4 separate regions of the Homo sapiens genome follow, and all the other regions are linked to region 4. Evidence: promoter capture Hi-C in 16 types of primary human blood cells and fetal thymus (Javierre and others, 2016). All regions are on one chromosome and are shown on one strand. Each heading gives the region's core, a stretch centred on a gene start or on the middle of the fragment in contact. The rest is flanking DNA. Distances are from core to core; before and after follow the strand shown. Region 1 overlaps LOC124902625 (a long non-coding RNA gene). Region 2 has its middle 12 kb from the start of OR2AG2. Region 3 has its middle 41 kb from the start of MRPL17. Region 4 holds the start of APBB1 (amyloid beta precursor protein binding family B member 1).

The links. Contacts are between HindIII fragments. The CHiCAGO score rates a contact against its expected background, and 5 or more counts as called.
Region 1: a fragment that was not itself captured here is called in contact with the fragment with the promoter of APBB1 in region 4 in 1 of 17 cell types (fetal thymus); the score reaches 5.1 in fetal thymus.
Region 2: a contact is called between a fragment that was not itself captured here and the fragment with the promoter of APBB1 in region 4, in 4 of 17 cell types (non-activated CD4 T cells, activated CD4 T cells, total CD8 T cells and 1 more). The highest score is 8.1, in non-activated CD4 T cells.
Region 3: a contact is called between a fragment that was not itself captured here and the fragment with the promoter of APBB1 in region 4, in 5 of 17 cell types (activated CD4 T cells, naive CD8 T cells, naive CD4 T cells and 2 more). The highest score is 7.2, in activated CD4 T cells.

The regions. Positions count from the first base shown.
Region 1 is chr11:6,699,104-6,701,803 of GRCh38, reverse strand. The region is part of intron 3 of LOC124902625 (a long non-coding RNA gene); the gene reads right to left. Among named protein-coding and RNA genes, the nearest start is that of MRPL17, 17 kb to the right of the region's middle. The HindIII fragment of the contact is 534 bases long and covers 1,034-1,567 here.
Region 2 is chr11:6,758,791-6,761,490 of GRCh38, reverse strand. No RefSeq gene overlaps it. Among named protein-coding and RNA genes, the nearest start is that of OR2AG2, 12 kb to the left of the region's middle. The HindIII fragment of the contact is 3,754 bases long and covers 1-2,700 here.
Region 3 is chr11:6,723,423-6,726,122 of GRCh38, reverse strand. No RefSeq gene overlaps it. Among named protein-coding and RNA genes, the nearest start is that of MRPL17, 41 kb to the right of the region's middle. The HindIII fragment of the contact is 3,986 bases long and covers 1-2,700 here.
Region 4 is chr11:6,417,790-6,420,489 of GRCh38, reverse strand. APBB1 (amyloid beta precursor protein binding family B member 1) reads left to right here and starts at 1,396. Exons shown (of 15, transcript NM_001164.5): 1 at 1,396-1,505. RefSeq lists silencers at 1,029-1,428, 1,439-1,628. The HindIII fragment of the contact is 2,464 bases long and covers 1-2,455 here.

The sequences.
Region 1 (2,700 bases), core at 51-2,550, 280 kb before region 4:
TTGCTATAAGCATTGTTGCATACCTTCTGGTGCACATATATACACATTTCCATTAGGCATGTGTGTATATACTAGGAGTAGGATTTCTGGGTTGTAGCATATACATTTTCAACTTCTGTAAAGAGTACCAACCAGCTTTCAAAGTGTATGTTGCAATTTATGCCTTTATCAGAAATGTATGAGAATTCCAGTTGCTTCTCATACTCACCAAGACTTAATTTTATCAGAAAGTCTTTTTAACTTTAGCCATTCTGGAGTATATAGTACTATTTCAATATGGTTTTAATATGTATTTCCTTAATTAATAATGAAGTTTTACATTTTTGTCCTTTATTGGCTATTTGAATATTCACTTTCATAAAATGCCTACTCAAGTTTTTCACCCATTTTTATCTTGTGTTGATTTTCTAGGAGTCCTTTACATATTCTGTCCACAACCCCTTTGTCAGTTATAAGAGTAGCATACATGACTTGGGCCACAAAATATGCGTATAAATTTGAAATGTAAATTTCAACTGATTTCTTACAGGTTTAGTTACCATTTCAGTTTTATAGTATAGAACTAAGCGAAACAAAGTATTTTACAAATCTGTGATAAATAATTCTTAAATAGAAAGAGTACTTTTTTATTAAAATACATCTTCTAAAGACAAGAACAGGGCAAGTTTTTTTTTAATTAGTTCCCTTATCCTTAAATGAATAAAATACCCAATGTTAAAATGTGACTGGGTTTAGTAGAGATTAAGAGCAAAAAGTAAAGGTACTGGGCTGCTTAGAAGTGCAGGGGCTTAAAACGTGTATTAATTATTGTTACAGAAGGATTTTTACAATAGAATTAACCAAATATTCAAATAAAGCTAATCTAAATTTCTTAAATCGATGATAGGAATGAATAAATTACAAGAAAATTGGTTGAAGAGTAACAAGTAAGTCATGAGCGAGGGTAAAAATAAATACATATTTATAGGACCCCAACCTCTATCAAAAGCTAATGGAAGAACTTTCTGGTATGTGAATTTAGCTCAATAAAGCTTTTTTTTTAAAAAAAAAAAAAGCTAATAAAAATGTTTCTCCCATGAGTTTGAATAAATGTACATGGTTAACTTACTTCCAATATATATTGTTTTTTCTCTTACATGTAACATTAAAGTGGTAGAAGCAGACCAGGTGCAGTGGCTCACACCTGTAATCCCAGCACTTTGGGAGGCTGAGGCAAGCAGATCACCTGAGGTCAGTCAGGAGTTCGAGACCAGCCTGACCAACATGGCAAAACCCCGTCTCTACTAAAAATCCAAAAACTAGCCAGGTGTGGTGACGGGTGCCTGTGATCCCAGCTACTTGGGAGACTGAGGCAAGAGAATTGCTTGAACCCGGGAGGCGGAGGTTGCAGTGAGCGGAGATGGCACCATTGCACTCCAGCCTGGGCAACAGAGCCAGATTCTGTCTCTAAGTAAATAAATAAATAAAAATAAAGTGGTAGAAGCAAACATAAAATTTCTTCTTCTAATTACTGAAATTTTATGAAATATGCACCTGGACCTAAGTGAACAAAAATACTCATTAAGCTTTTTCTCATTTGTGAAATTTATGCAAATGCAAAGGATACATGTTATAGAATGTATGTTACATTTCCCAGCATGATTTTTATAAATCTTGAATATTCTAATTATGGGTAAGTGATGTTGCCAAAAATTTGTCATATGAATTAAATTAGTATCACCTTCACTACTTCTTAACAGTAATCTCTATGATTTTCTTAACAGAACTTTCCTTTAGGAATGATGTTTTTGTTTGTTGGTTTGGTTTAGCAATTGTCAGCAGTCAAAAGAGATGAAATCATTCAACAAAAATTATTATTCTTGCTGTCCTTACTACAACATATCTGGTTTTAGTATAGTCTATCATGAGCCAAAAATACCATTTCTTTTTTTTTCTTTTTTACATAAGAAGATTTAGAAGAGACAAAAATACCATTTCTAATGCCACATTTTTTTTCTTAACAGAAACGTATAAGCAAGGAAAAGGAGGCTTCATATACACCAATATTTTGATTTGTTCCTCTGTTTTACCCCTTGGATTTTTTATTCAGGACAATGTGCCATAAGATTGAAAATGGGCAAGAAGAATAGCTTTCTTTTTTAAAATGAGTGAAGGGTCAATGTGTAAGCGGAGGTGGGAAAGAAGAATAACAATGCTATTTCTACAATAGACATATTCTTGGGCAGATCAATTTTGGAAAAGAAACATATGGATGTTGAGGACCTGAAAGAAATTACTGTAAAACTATCTATACATGTGTATCTCCTAGAAAGTCCCATCAACCCCCACAGTGTGCATACCTAAGTTTGAAGAGAGCGTTCCTAGAATATAAGCCCTATGAATGTAGGGGCTTGGTATGGTTTTGAGACGGAGGCTGGAGTGCAGTGGTGCGATCTCAGCTCACTGCAACCTCTGCCCCCTGGGTTCAAGTGATTCTCCTGCCTCAGCCTCCTGACTAGCTGGGATTACAGATGTGCACCATCATGCCCAGCTTTCTGTATTTTTAGTAGAGACGGGGTTTCAGCATGTTGGCCAGGCTGGTCTTGAACTCCTGACCTCATGATCCACCCGCCTCAGCCTCCCAAAGTGTTGGGATTACAGGTGTGAGCCACCGTGCCCGGCCAGGTTTTTTTAAAAATTGTTTGTGGGGAATATTTTCTG
Region 2 (2,700 bases), core at 159-2,658, 340 kb before region 4:
TGTTCACAGAACTGGAAAAAACTACTTTAAATTTCATATGGAACCAAAAAAGAGGCCGCATGGCCAAGAAAATCCTAAACAAAAAGAACAAAGCTGGAGGCATCATGCTACCTGACTTTAAACTATACTGCAAGGCTAAAGTAACAAAAACAGCATGGTACTGGTACCAAAACAGATATCTAGACCAATGGAACAGAGAGGCCTCAGAAATAACACCACATGTCTACAACCATCTGATCTTTGACAAATCTGACAAAAACAAGTAATGGGGAAAGGATTCCCTGTTTAATAAAAGGTGTTGGGAAAACTAGCCATATGCGGACAACTGAAACTGGACCCCTTCCTTACACTTTATACAAAAATTAATTCAAGATGGATTAAAGACTTAAATGTTAGACCTAAAACCATAAAAACCCTAGAAGAAAACCTAGGCAATACCATTCGGGACATAGGCATGGGCAAAGACTTCATGACTAAAACACAAAAAGCAATGGCAACAAAAGCCAAAATTGACAAATGGGATCTAATTAAACTAAAGAGTTACTGCACAGCAAAAGAAACTATCATCAGAGTGAACATGCAACCTACAGAATAGGAGAAAATTTTTGCAATCTATCCATCTGACAAAGGGCTAATATACAGAATCTACAAAGAACTTAAACAAATTTACAAGAAAAAAAACAACCCCATCAAAAAGTGGATGAAGGATATGAACAGACACTTCTCAAAAGAAGACATTTATGCAGCCAACAAACGTAGGAAAAAAAGCTCATCATCACTGGTCATTAGAGAAATGCAAATCAAAACCACAATGAGATACCATCTCACCCCAGTTAGAATGGTGATCATTAAAAAGCCAGGCAACAACAGATGCTGAAGAGGATGTGGAGAAATAGGGACAATTTTACACTGTTGGTGGGAGTGTAAATTAGTTCAATGATTGTGGAATACAATGTGATGAGTCCTCAAAGATCTAGAACCAGAAATACCATTTGACCCAGCAATCCCATTACTGAGTATATACTCAAAGGATTATAAATTATTCTACTGTATAGACACGTGCACATGTATGTTTATTGCAGCACTATTCACAATAGCAAAGACTTGAAACCAACCCAAATGCCCATCAGTGATAGGCTGGATTAAGAAAATGTGGCACATATGCACCATGGAATACCATGCAGCCATGAAAACGATGTCCTTTGCAGGGACATGGATGATGCTGGAAACCATCATTCTCAGCAAACTAAGAACAGAAAACCAAACACCGCATGTTCTTACTCATAAGTGGGAGTTGAACAATGAGAACACATGGACATAGGGAGGTATCACACACTGGGGCCTGTCATGGGTGGGGGACTGGGGGAGGGATAGCATTAGGAGAAATACCTAAGGTAGGTGACGGGTTGATGGGTGCAGCAAACCACCATGGCATGTATATACCTATGTAACAAAACTGCACGTTCTGCACTGTACCCTAGAACTTAAAGTATAATAAAAAAATTTTTTTAACTGGTTGGTATTCTCTACTGAAGTTGAAGATATGTATATGCCATAACCAAGCAATTCTACTTGTTGTATATGCCTGACAGAAATGTGTGTATATGTGCACCAAAAGACATGTGCAAAACTATTTATAGCAACACTGTTTAAAATACCCCAAAGCTGAAAACAACCCACATGTTTGTTCATCAGCATAAAGGATAAATAAACTGTGATCTAGTCATACAATGCATTATACAACAAAGAAAATGAACTACGAGGCCAGGCGCAGTGGCTCACACCTGTAATTCCAGCACTTTGGGAGGCTGAGGCAGGCAGATCACACAGTCAGGAGCTCGAGATCAGCCTGGCCAACATGGTAAAACCTGTCTCTACTGAAAAAATGCAAATATTAGCTGGGCGTGGTGGCAGACGCCTGTAATCCCAGCTCTCAGGAGACTGAGGCAGGAGAATCATTTGAACCTGGGAGGCAGAGCTTGCAGTGAGCCGAGATCGTGCCATTGCAATCTATACTACAATGCTATAAACTATACTACAAGGCTAAAGTAACAAAAACAGCATGGTACTGGTACCAAAACAGATATATAGACCAATGGAACAGAGAGGAACTACAGCCTGGGTGACAAGGCGAGACTCTCAAAAAAAAAGAAAGAAAAGAAAATGAACCACAATAGCTCCATATAGTAACATGGATAAATCTTACAAACGTAATATTGAGTGAAGGAAGGCAGGCACAAAACATACATATTGTATCATTTCAATTGCCTGTCTAAGAAACATAACTGATGTATGGTGTTAAACTGCTTTTGGGGAGTGAGTGAAGGTATAGTGATTAGAAGAGGGCATAAGGAAAGAATACTGGGGTGTTGGTAATGCTCTGTAACTTGACCTGAATAGTGGTTACTGGAGTGTGTATGCCTTGTGCCAGATTCATTGAGCTGTACATATACATTCTGAGCATTTTTTAGTATTTGTATAACTGTTATATTTTAGCTTAAAAAAGTTATTAAAAAAAGATTAGCCACGTGTTTTGTAGTCATTTGACTCACTGAGGGCTAGTCTCTCTTTGAGTATGCTATTGATAAATAAATGTCCCCCAAAGATGTTCACATTCCTACTCCCCAGAACCTGTACATGGTACCTTAGATGGCAAAAAGGACTTTGTAGATGTGATTAAATTACCAATCTTGAGACAAG
Region 3 (2,700 bases), core at 8-2,507, 310 kb before region 4:
TACATTTTAACTCCATGTCCCCATATTTTGACTTTTGGTTGTCTCAATTTACATATTTTAATATCATCTATCTTTTAATAGGTTGCTATACCTATATTTTTCCTCTGGTCTTTGATTCAGGATCTATTATTTTTGATAGATTTGTCTTTTGGGCTTCATACTAGCATGTTAAGTGAATTGCACACTACAATTATAGTAATGGAGTATTCTTGGTTTGTCCGTTTACTTAATTTTTCCAGTGAATTTTATATCTTGAAAAGTTTATCTTTCCACATTAGTGTTTTTTCTTTCAGATTGAAGAACTCCCTTAAGTATTACTTGCAAGATAGGTCTGGTGGTGGTGAATTCGCCCAGATTTTGTTTGTCTAGGAAAGACTTTATCTCTCCTTCATATTTAAAGGGTATTTTTGCTGGATTTAGAATTCCTGGGTGGGAGTTTTCTGTCTTTGGGCATTTTGAAAATGTCACTCCATTCCCTCCTGACCTATATGGCATCCAACAAGAACTCTGTTGCCAGATGAATTGGACTTTCTTCATATGTTATTTGCTTTTGCTTTTTTTTCTGCTTTTACAATCCTTTCTTTGTCTTTGACCTTTTCAAAGTCGTATGCCTTGGAGTAGTCTCATATGGATTGAATGTTTGATGTTCTCAGACCTTTCTGTACCAGGATATGTATATCTTTCTCAAGTTTCAGAAAGTTTTCCTTTATATTTATATATATATTTATATTTATATATATCTTTATATATTTATTTATTTATTTTGAGGCAGGGTCTCACTCTGTCACCCAGACTACAGTACAGTGGCATGATCATGTTCACTGCAACCTCCATCTCCCAGGCTCAAGAGATCCTCCCACCTCAGCTTCCCAAGTAGCTGAGACCACAGGCACATACCACCACGCTCAGCTAATTTTTGAATTTTTCTGTAGAAACAGGGCCTGGCCATGCTGCTCAGGCTGGCTTAAAACTCCTGAGCTCAAGCAATCTACCCACCTCAGCCTCCCAAATTGCTGGGATTACCAGGTGTGGGCCACCATGCCCATCCTGTTTTTGTTTTTTGGGTTTTTTTTTAAATAAGCCTTCTACCACTTACTCTCTTACTCTTGCTCAGCTCCCTCTTGAACAGCAACAATTTTTACCTTTGGTCCCTTGAGGTAATTTTCTATATCTTGCAGGCAGTCTTTGTTCCTTTTCATTATTTTTTCTCATCAGACTATCTACTTTCAAATAGCCAGTCTTTGAGCTCACTGATTCCTTCATCTGCTTAGTTCATTCTGGTGTTGAGAGCCTCTAAAGGGTTCTTTGTTTCAGCAAACGTATGTCTCAGTTCCAATATTTTTGTTTAATTTTTTTTAATTATTGTTTCAATCTCTTTGTTACACTTTCTGACATGCTTCTGAACTGCTTTACCTTTGAGATAATTGAGTTTCTCTTGGGCAGAGAATTCACAGATCACTATCTCATTAGAGTCAGTCACTGGATTTTTGCTTAGTCTTTCTGTGGAGGTAATGGCTCCCTGATTGTTGTTGTTTCTTGTGGGCATGTGCCAATGCCTTTGCATTGAAGGAGAAGTTATTTATTCCAGTTTTCTTTCTTTGGCTTGTTCTGGTTTTTATTTAGTATATTTATTTAGTGAATATTTACCACTAGATTGCTGCCTCCTTTTTCAGTCTAGGTGGTGCCTTAAGCCTAAGTTCACCTCGGCTCTGGTAAATGATTATAGCGTTGCCTGTCCTGAATGGGGGAGGTCTCAAAAGGATTATCTCAGCAATGTGGGAAGGCTGGCTAATGGTTCATGCCCAGGGCACCTATGGAACATACCTCCTACAATGTGCTGCTGCTAAACAGCCACTCTGATTTGGCATCTCCTTTGGCCAAGTTACAGAGCAGAATTCCCTAGGATGTGGATGATATTCTCACTTCCTCCCTTTGTCTTTGCTTGTCCTCAGGGATATTTATCCCTTTAGGTAGTCATGATGCTTCCTGTGGGTTAAGGCAAAGACAGGTCAACTTACAGGGGACTCAAGAAAGTGGGAAAGCTGACTGACCACCTCAATTTCACCTGTTCCAGTGTAGAAACTTTGAGTTGGGTGTCAGGGGAGATTTTCTATGTTCTTAGTACCAAAGAGAATAATGTGTAGGGTCATTACAGATGTGGAAATTTGATTCTCTTACCATCTGCTCAGAGTTTTCCCACTTCTGTGTGGTCCTGGGAACTGCCTCATCCTCATACTTGAGCTCTGGGTTATTGATGGTAAAAATTTCAGTGCTATATATTTGTTTTTGGTTTTCTGAGTGGGGACAGTAAAGCCAGCTTGCCCCTATGCCATAATCTTGCAACTGTAAGTCTTTAATTTTTGTTGTAAATGTCCCTTTTCCACGATCATTCTTTAAGAATATCTCACTATACATAAAATTTGTGTCTGATATTTTCTTTCAGTGAAATAAATACTCCATTCTACTCTCTTTTGGCTTCCACTATAGCTGTTCAGAAATCAGCTCTCTGTTAGGTTTTTAAAGGTAAACTCTTTTTCTACTTGTATTTGTACTTTCTACATGTATTTGTTGTTTTGTTGTTGTTCTTGTTGTTTCTGCAGTTTTATTCTGATGCATCTGATTGTAAAGTTATTTTATTTTACTTTAATTTTTTTACTTAGTGTTTGCAAAGGTCTTAAACTTTGTCTTTAATTTATAATG
Region 4 (2,700 bases), core at 147-2,646:
GGAAGCCAGTAGTTGGTGTCATTCATTGGAATGGATGGAATGGAGTTGTGTCCAGTGTGGGATGTGTGTTGTGTTGTGTGTGTTGAAGAGGGTTCTTTTTCACCCCAGTGAAACTCCTTAAAAGACTAATAAAGGGGGATGAAACAATAAATTGAGGCTGGACACTGTGTCTGACGCCTGTAATCTCAGCACTTTGGGAGGCCGAGGTGGGAGGATCGCTTGAACACAGGAGTTCCAGACCAGCCTGGGGAACACAGTGAGACCCCCTCTCTACTAAAATACAAAAAGCCAGGCGCGGTGGCACATGTCTGTGGCCCAGGTACTCCGGGGGCTGAGGCGGGAGGAATCTGAGCCCTGGAGGCTGAGGCTTCAGAGAGCCATGATCTTGCCCCTGGGTGACAGAGTGAGACCCTGCCTTGAAAGAAAGAACGAACTCAGATTTGGATATCTTTAGTTTTAGGCACCTGAGAGGGATTAGCATGTAGAGGCTTTCTGGATGGTAATATAACCTCTCATTATCCTTGATGGCCTCTGGGTCACTGATCTGACCATTGGGATGTATCCCACTATCCAGGGAGGGTCTGTAGTAAGTATTGCACCCCACCATCTTCCTTACATCTTTACACTTTTCATTCACAATATCCCCTTCCTTGTGAATTTCTACCGGGGAGCAATGTATTCTTGACATTTTCCAGGCCTTGATGTCAGCTTTATGCTCAGCAGCAGAGGTATTTCAGTGTCAAGAAACATCGGAGTTCCAGTCTAAATTCATCACTAACTGTGACTGCGGGCAAGTCGCTTTACCTCTCTTAATCTTAGCCTCAGCCTCTGAAAAATGAGGATAATAATTCTGGTGATTTTACAGAGCTGATGTGAAGATTAATGCGCGTTAACGGTTTAATAGAGAGCCCGGCACGGTGTAAGTGGTCAATAAATACGAGCTATTATTATGAGCAACGCTGTGTCCTCAGAGCCTCCCCACCAGGACGTCAGGGAGCGGTGCAGCAGGAGCGGCGCAGAGTGCCTCCCGGGAATCCTTCCCCGCGCGGCCGCGGCGCCGCACAGCCGCCGCCATTCGGGCTCCAGCCCCGTCCGCGCGTCTCCCGGCGTGGGTGCGGGACCAGGGCGCTGCGGGGCGCGCAGGGTGAGTCTGTGGAATAGTAGTGGAGGACGGCGCCGCGCTAGGCGGGGGTCCCAGGGAGTCGGCTGCAGGGGTGTCTGCTGGGAGGGCTGGACCGCGGGGCTCACCGAGGTCCGAGGGCCGCCCGCAGGGTGAGGCCCCCAAGAAGCTGCGGCAAGTGCCGCGCCCGCCGAGCTCGCTCCCGCGCCCGCCCCAAGATGGCGCCCCTCCCCCTCCCCTTGCGCGCGCCTCCGCCGCTCGGGGCGCGGCCCCGCGGCCCGCGCGCTCCTGGGCGGGGGATGTTGTGATGGAGAAGCCGCGGCGGAGCCCGAACCCCGCAGCCTGAGCCACCTCCGTCATCTGGGCCCGGGGCCTCACCGCGCAGGTAGGAGGTGTCCCTGCCCCGGCCCAGCCCCGGTGGCTGCGTCCCGATCACCAGCGGCCGGCGGACCCTGTAGCCCCTACCCTGCGGCAGCCCGGGTCCCCCGGCCGGCCCCATCCCCCATCCCCGGGTCGCCCTTCCACCGCGCGCCCGCAGACCGTCCTCTCATACCCACCATCGCAGGGTCCACTCGGGCCCTCACACCGTCCCTTCCGCTGCCCTTTACCTCCTGCCCCTCGGGGTGACTAGGGGCGGGTATGGAGGACGCGAAGCGAGGGGCAGTGGGTGTTGGGGGAGGGGAGGCCCAGGTCCGGGAAGGGGACGTGGGGTGGGGTGGGCTGGCAGGCCGCGCCGATTCCAGCAGGGGTCCCAGGCCCTGGATCTGTCAAGCCGCATTCTGTTGCCCTCAGCGACCGAGGGGTGTGCCCTGGGGCGGCTGTGTCCCCAGCTCAGCCAGGAGGCCTAGCACTGCCAAGAACACTGATTAGAAGCAGTTTTCCCACTGCCAATTCCTAACCTGTTTTGTATCGGCCTGTGTATCTCTTGCATTCTGAGCCCCTCTAGCTATAGTCCCAGCTCTCTCCGCCCTTCAGAGTCAACGCTTGCTGTCTTCATTTCCTTACTTCCCATTCATTCTTAAAAGCACTCCACTCTGTGTCCCTGACACCCACTGAAACTGTCTAGGCCAAGGTCACCGGAGACCTCCTTGTGGAGAACTCCAGTGGACACTGTTATCTCCTTTACCTTTGAGTAGTATTCGGTGGGGTATGTCAACTCACTCTCCTTGAAGCATTTTCCTGCTTTCTGCCCTACAGCATTGTCTGCTCTTCTCAATCTCATTTGCTTCCTCTCCTCCTCTCTTTAGATGCTGGTGAGGCTCTTGGCTCTGTCCCGAGCTGTCTTCTCTCAGTATCTGTTCTTTCTCCCCAGATATTTTATCTACTCCCAAAGCTTCAAATTTCATATATATGCTAATGATTCCCAAATTTATATATCCAGCCCAGACTTCTTTCCTGAAATCCAGACTCATATGTCCAGCTGCTCTCTTGACATCTCCTTGAAAGACAAACAGGAGTTCCAAACCTATAGATTCCAAGCTAAATTATCTTCTGTGGTTTTCTCTGTACCCCACTTCCAAATCTGTTCTTCCTTCGAATCTCAAAAATGGCTCTTTGCCAATCTGGAGTCATGAGCAAGA